Regions from separate parts of the Homo sapiens genome. Here region 2 is linked to region 1. The links are contacts of gene promoters, found by promoter capture Hi-C in human tissues and cell types (Jung and others, 2019). All regions are on one chromosome and are shown on one strand. The core of a region is centred on a gene start or on the middle of the fragment in contact, and the rest is flanking DNA. Distances in the headings are between cores, read along the strand shown. Region 1 holds the start of MNS1 (meiosis specific nuclear structural 1). Region 2 overlaps CGNL1 (cingulin like 1).

Evidence for each region. The method cuts DNA at HindIII sites, captures the fragments that hold promoters and counts their contacts. A contact is called where the count stands out against the background at its distance.
Region 2: a fragment that was not itself captured here is called in contact with the fragment with the promoter of MNS1 in region 1 in 1 of the 25 tissues and cell types used here (lymphoblastoid cells).

What each region holds. Positions count from the first base shown.
Region 1 is chr15:56,463,394-56,467,150 of GRCh38, forward strand. It overlaps MNS1 (meiosis specific nuclear structural 1), which reads right to left and starts at 1,744. Exons shown (of 10, transcript NM_018365.4): 1 at 1,577-1,744; 2 at 633-854. The coding sequence starts at 1,579. RefSeq lists a silencer at 1,674-1,923. The HindIII fragment of the contact is 6,259 bases long and covers 1-3,757 here.
Region 2 is chr15:57,513,806-57,517,626 of GRCh38, forward strand. It overlaps CGNL1 (cingulin like 1), which reads left to right. Exons shown (of 19, transcript NM_032866.5): 9 at 2,975-3,181. Among named protein-coding and RNA genes, the nearest start is that of GCOM1, 76 kb to the right of the region's middle. The HindIII fragment of the contact is 4,559 bases long and covers 1-3,821 here.

The DNA of each region.
Region 1 (3,757 bases), core at 494-2,993:
CACTATTCCAAGAGTCTTGCATGTATTAACTCATTATTAAAACAATCCTAAGTAGGAGGTACTATTCTTATTCCCCATTTTATAGAAAAAGCATAAAAAATAAAAGCAGGCTGGGCGCGGTGGCTCACCCCTATAATCCCAGCACTTTGGGAGGCCGAGGCGGGCGGATCACGAGGTTAGGAGTTCGAGATCAGCCTGGTCAATATGGTGAAACCCCGTCTCTACTAAAAATTAAAAAATTAGCCAGGCGTGGTGTTGCGCGCCTATAGTCCCAGCTATTCAGGAGGCTGAGGCAGAAGAATCGCTTGAACCCCGGAGGCAGAGGTTGCAGTGAGCCAAGATCGTGCCACTGCACTGCAACCTGGGCGACAGAGCAAGACTCCATCCAAAAAAAAAAAAAAGTAAAAGCAACTTACTCAAGGGTCCGTAGCTAAGGTATAGCAGTAGTAGGATTCAAAGACAGGCCGGCTCCAGAAACCCAGGTCTTTACGATTACACCGAGCTGAGGCACAATCAGGCATCACTTACCTGCTGCTGTTGTTTATCTACTCATTTCCAGCATTAACAGCTGACTTTCATCGTTTCCAAGGTGCAAAATGAAAAAAAAAGTAACAATGAATAGTAAAACTTACCTTTTGAATGGCCTCTTCCATATCCAACTCAAATTGTTCATTTTGTAATAATCTGAGAAATTGCTTGCGCTGAACACGGTTATCATTTTCATTCTGCACCATTTGATTCCTGATTTGACTGTTGACGTTTTTTAGAGCTTGGACATGTAATTTTTTGCAGTAGTTTTCATCTACTAATTTCTGATGCCTTTCACTACAGCTCAAATTTCTCCTTTTGGAACCCTACGATGGAAGAAAAAAAAAGATGCATATTTTGATATTCCAAAATCTAATTTTAAAAAATGTATTGATATAAACCTTAGTAAGAAAGGATACGAAGAGCCTGGCTTCCTTCCTAAATTCAAAGGAGTATACCGAATAAAAAGTAAACGTGGTAAATATGTTCACATATCGATTAAATAGGTACTGTTATTATTACCTATTTTATAGATGAAACATGAAAAGTAACTTTACCCAAGGTTCTGCAGCTAATAAATAGCTGTGCTAGGATTAATCGCACCCTACAGACCCAGATCTTTACTACCACCAGGGAATTTCTCCTCCCCTCATTCCACCCACCACCACCACCACCACGACTACCACCACAGGGCCATAAAGTGCTGTTCAGAAGCTGGTCAGATTTTCCTAACATAAATGTAATAGGTCAATTCGCCGCTATTTATCAATTCGCTTTCTCCTACACTTTTATATCTACTTATTTCTTCAGAGGTTCTATTGGGCAGATTTAAAGATGTATTTAATACACTATGCGAAAAGTGCCAAAAAAGCTGGAAACCACCGCGAGCGTCCCTTCTAATAGCACCTGAAGCCTCCGAAAGCAAATACAAGTTCCCCAATTAATGACCAGATTAAGCACTTAAAATCCTTTTTTAGAAGCAGATGAGCGCCAAACTAGAATTAAATCAACAATAAACAAGTAGTTTCAAGTCCCCCAACTGGCTCACCATCTTGGCTGACGAAAAATACCCCCTCTCGTGGGACCGCGGCCACCACCTCCCGCCGCAAACGCAGCAGCCAGCAGCCCCAAGGAGCGCACCTGGCTGCGCGCGCTCGGGTGTTTACGCGGCGTCTTGGCAACGGTGGAGCTGCGCGCCCTCCGCTCGACCAAAAGTGACCCACGCAGAACGTGGCCTCCCATTGGACGCGATAAGATACAATCGGCATTGAGCTTCTTAGGACCAGGGCAGGAGGGCTACTTCTATAGGTCTAAACTAGAAAAGCGGGAAGTTCAGACTGTGGCCTGACCCAAGCACTTTGCAGTGGGCTAGGGAAGCTCGATTTCCCTCCAGCGGCCGAACTGTGGTTTCAGTGGGTTTGGGAGCCAAGTTCGGGACTGTGGAGACTGCGCACAGAGAAATACGCAAACTACTGCCTAATGCATGGAGCCGAAGGAAATTTCCACGCATGGAGCATCCCGCACACTAAGTGCCTAGTCAGCCAGGTCTCTGCTAGGGACGATGACTGGTTTAATCCTCAGCAATGGGAGTCCAGGTCGCTGTCCCCTTTGCTGGGTTGTGAGGCACTGAGGGTAGCACGAGCTTCCAGCAGCCTTCACTTCACCCCCCCGCCCCCCCCCCCCCCCCGCAGAAGCTGCTGGTAAATTTTGGGACTAAAATCTATGAGCCACATGAATCTTACTCTGCTATGTGGTCCAGGTACCAAGAGAGAGCACGTTACATGATGGCAGGATGTTGATCTGGTTCATTCCATAGGCAGGTTAGACACTAAAGTCCATTTTAAATGGGAAGTTTAAGAATGATAATGGATCAGAGAAATTAGATATACTGATTTTAGAAATGATACATTCAGAGAAATCTTGTCAACACTAAAATATTTGTATAAGGTGATTAGTGGTATAACTTTGTGTTATTCTAATTTGGAGTCCGTCTTCTGTAGCAATATGTCTGCTTAAAGATTAATAACAAATGGGACTTGCAGTTTCAGTGCTGACGTGTAAAAGCTTGGAAGTTGTCACCCCATCCTTACAACCAGATCAAAACAACTAAAAATCAGCGACTTCTCTTGGTTCCATCATACAACTGAGGTCGCTCGTCTCTCTGTCCTTTGGTCATTTATCCCGTGGTTGCATATCTATGTTGTCTCTAGTACTCCACTCATTGCCATCACTGTTTGAGAGAAATGGAGAGAAGGCGTAAACCTGCCCTCTGGGTGTTCTGTGTAAATTGATCTGGAATGGAGCAAAGCAGGCAGCCTGCTATAAATTTCTCTTCTTGGCATATCCATCTCCGCAAAGGGTTGGGCACTGTATAGAAGAGACAGGAGACAGGCATGGGTTCAGGGTTGAACAGGGTATAACACATTCAATAGAGTGTGGGGTTTAATTTGTTAATTCCTAATAGTGAAATAGTGACATTGCAAAGTATTTCAGCAAACATGTATGTTTTTTACTGTTTACTTCTCGAAATGAAGACTTTCGTCTCTAAAGGGAACTTCAGTTATAATTCCTCATTTCCAGTATACCCTTGGATATGGTAGAAGGATTCATATAATTTCATAGGTAATCTGAGAAAAAGATTTTTGGCCAGAATATTGACCTAAATCCAAGACAAATTTAATCAATTGTAACAATTAGCTGATTTTAACCTTTAAAAAATTATCCTAACAATTACTACATTTTTAATAGACTTTGCTCCTTTTTCGAAGCAGTTTTAGGTTTACAGAAAAATTGACAGAATACAGAGAATTCCCCGTCTCACCTCTCCTCCCCACCGCACCCATACAATTTCCCCTATTTTTAGCATTACATATTAGTGTAGTACATTTGTTACACTTGACGAACCAATATTAATATGATTAAGTTCGTAATTGACATTAGGGTTCACTCTTTGTTTTGTACAGGTCTATGAGGATTTGTTTTGTTTTTTTTCTGAGATGAAGTCTGGCTATGTTGCCCAGTCTGTAGTGCAGTGACATGATCTCGGCTCACTGCAACCTCTACCTCCCAGGTTCAAGCGATTCTCCTGCCTCAGCCTCCCAAGTAGCTGAGACTACAAGCAAATTTTTGTATTTTTAGTGGAGACGGAGTTTCACCAGTTTGGCCAGGCTGGTCTTGAACTCCTGACCTCAAGTCATACACCCACCTTGGCCTCCCAAAGTGCTGGGAG
Region 2 (3,821 bases), core at 938-3,437, 1.1 Mb after region 1:
GTCACTGTGCCCGGTCCCTTGTTTTTATTTCTCTTAGCTATATAGCAAGGAGTGAAATTGCTAGGTCCTACCGTAACTCTGTGTAACATTTTGAGGAACTGGCAAACTGTTTTCCAAAGTAGCTGCACCATTTTACATTCCTACCAGCAATGTATAAGTGGTCTAATTCCTCTAAACTCTCCCCAATACTTGTTATTATCTTTCTTTTTTATTATAGCTATCCTAGTGGATGTGGAGTGGTATCTCATTATGGTTTTAATTTGCATTTCCCTAATGACTAATGATGTTGAATATGTTTTCATATGCATGTTGGATTTTATATACTGTTCGGATCCTTTCCCCATTGTTTATTTATTTATTTTTTGAGATGGAGTCTTGCTCTGTCACCCAAGTTGGAGTGCAGTGGTCCCATCTCGGCTCACTGCAATCTCTGCCTCCCGAGTTCAAACAATTCTCTCGCCTCAGCATCCCAATTAGCTGGGATTACAGGTGTGCACCACCACACCTGGCTGATTTTTGTATTTTTAGTAGAGATGGGGTTTTATCATGTTGGCCAGGCTGGTCTTGAACTTCTGACCACAAGTGATCCGCCTGCCTGGGCCTCTTAAAGTGCAGAGACTATGACGTAACCCACCGCACCTGGCCCCATTTTTAAGTCTTTTTGTTACTGAGTTAAAGAATCATTTATATATTCTGGATATGAGTCCTTCATTAGATATATGACTTTTATTTCCTTTCATTCTGGTCGTTGTCTTTTGACTTTCTTGGTGGCATCATTTGCAGCACAAAAGTTTTAAATTTTGAAGAAGCTTAATTTATCTGTTCGTTCTTTTGTCACTTGTACTTTTGGTGTTGTAGCTAAGTAGCCTTTGCCTAACCCAAGGTCACAAATACTTGTTTCTGTGTTTTAAGAGTTTTATAGTTTTAGATCCTACATTTGGGCCTATGATCCATTTTGAGTTAACTTTTGTGTATGGTATGAGGAAGATGTCTAACTTCATTTCTTTTTCATGTGGATATCCAGTTGTAGTGGCACCATTTGTTGAAGGCTATTCTTTCCCCCATTGAATTGTCTTGGCACCCTTGTTGAAAAGCAGTTGGCTATACATGTAGGGGTTTATGTCTGAACTCCCAATTCTGTTTCATTGATTTATATGCCTTCCCTCATGCCAGTACTGCCCTGTCTTGATAACTGTAACTTTGTCTCACATGTTAATAGGAGAGTTAGGGCAGAAGTGGGCAATCTAGACTTTTTCTTTCCCTGGTCTGACCAGTTACTAGATTCTTTAGATCCTTCCTCAAGTTTTCAACCACACTTTATTTCTCCTCTGTATATTTTTGTGACATGTCCTCTTGCTGGTTTCATTAGGAGACGATATCCTGATAGACCTGAGAAGTCTCAGCTGTCTGACACCTTAGTTTTCTCCTAGCAACGCCAGCTAACTTCATTCTAACTCAGTTGCTTGGCTCCGATGGGCTTTCTCTGTTGTATAGAATTAAACCTTTGGGCCATGAAAGGATGCTCTGGTTCCTGAAATTCTCTAACTGGTTAGGTTCAGGATAATAAGCTTACTGTACTGTTAAGAGAAGTAAAGATCTTTCCAACAGGCTATATAAGTGAGCAGTTCTAGCAGATACTTCTCCCACATGGTCGGTGATACAGCCTTTAAAAGCCTAACCTTGTCCTCCCTGGGCCTTTCTTTTATCGCAGGCGTCTGTAGCATTGTGTTGTAGGCATGAGATTTGCTGATATTGGCATCTTTGTAGTAGTGGAGAAATGGAGGACAGGTAAGAGATCTGCCTGGAGAGGTGGAATGTGGGGCAGGACCATTTCCCATCACTTCAAATTGCTAAACCGAAGAATACAAAGCCCCTGTGACCTCTGGAATCAACAATAACCACCCTGAGATTGTCATTCCTTTCTGTTGTGGATTGTGTGCAGCATACCTAGAGCTTACACTGTGAACTGTATCCTAATTTAAGCTAATTTAAATTTCTGTTTTATATTGGACATGAAAAAAATCTGTACTCCGAAGCTGCCCTTCCTCAAGAGCTTCTATTAAAGACCCTGGGCCGGGTGTGGTGGCTCACACCTGTAATCCCAGCACTTTGGGAGGCCGAGGCAGACAGATGATGAGCTCAGGAGATCGAGACCATCCTGGCTAACATGGTGAAACCCCGTCTCTACTAAAAATATAAAAAAATTAGCCAGGCGTGGTGGCGGGCGCCTGTAGTCCCAGCTACTCGGGAGGCTGAAGCAGGAGAATGGTGTGAACCCAGGAGGCGGAGCTTGCAGTGAGCCGACATCGCGCCACTGCACTCCAGCCTGGGGGACAGAGCGAGACTCTGTCTCAAAAAAAAAAAAAAAAAAAAAAAGAAAGAAAAAGAGACCCTGCCCATGCAAATGGGGCAGGGAAGTGGACATGTCAGAAAGCGAGGGTTATGAGGACAGGTTCTGGATTCAGCCTGCCCGAATGCAGTTCCTCCTAAGTGATCTTGGACAAGTTACTTAAACTATCCAAGTGTCAGTTTCCTCATATTTAAGATGGCGATAAGAATAGCACCCGCCTTCTGGAATTGTTAAAAGGTCGAAATCCCGTGTAAAGATCTTAACACAGGCAAGGGTTGGCAAACTTTTTCTATGAAGAGCCAGAGAGTCAACATTTTAGGCTTTGTGACACCATAGGCTTTGGGGTTTCTGTTGCAACCACTCGGCCCTGCTGTTGTAGCTTGAAAGCAGCCACAGACAGTCTGCAAATGGAAGGGCGTGGCTATGTTCCAATAACACTGCGCTTTTCAAAACAGGTGAGGGGCTGGGTTTGGCCTGCAGGCTGTCGTTTGCCGACCCCTGGCTCAGCACAGGGCCTGGCTAAGTGGGCACAATGGGTTTTTCATAAATGCCAGCCATTCTTCCAGCCTGGGGACAGCTCCTTGACATCAGTCTCCTTGTTCATTTGCTTTGTGTTTTTAACAGAATGTCGAGGTCTTGGCGAGCAGGAGCAACACTTCAGAGCAAGACCAGGCGGGGACTGAAATGCGCGTGAAGCTTCTGCAGGAGGAGAATGAGAAGCTGCAGGGAAGAAGCGAAGAGCTGGAGCGGAGAGTTGCTCAGCTTCAAAGGCAGATCGAGGACCTGAAAGGCGATGAAGCCAAGGCGAAGGAAACGCTGAAGAAGTACGAGGTGAGGCTCGCTGGGCCCAGGCCCAGCTTTGGCAGCTGCTGCTCCTTCTTTCCTGTGTAAGTGATTTCAAAAGTGGGGAAGGGATTTATTGTCATGATGTAGTAGGAAAGGTCAAGGCAATAGTGAATACATCCTCTCTGCAAGCCATTTCTTTGTTCCCCTGGGAGTGGCATGACAGGGAGGCCAGGGAACAGGGACGGTGAGGTCAGGCGGGAACACAGGTCTAGGCACAGGAATCCCCACACACCCAGATACCAGACATACCCAGCCTTCCATGGCTTCACACAGGCATCCACCTGAAAGGGCTGTCTTAACACCACCATTAGACCGATTCTCACTCAAGACTATTTATTCTTTTTTAACTCATTGTTGATGTTTTTGAAGTGACACTGATTTTAACAAGCCAATTATCTGGTTGGCCAGACCTCTAGCAGTGGGAAGCTGTGACTGAGAGATGGCACACTCTCAGCAGTAGGAAAGGGCAGCTGACAATGAAAGAGGAGACACACGTGGTCACTGCCTTAGTCTGTCCTGTGCTGCTATCATGGAATACCACCCTGGGGTAATTAAGGAAAAATAGAAATGTATTTCTCACAGTTCTGGAGGCTGAGAAGTCTAATATTAAGGTGCCAGCCTCTAG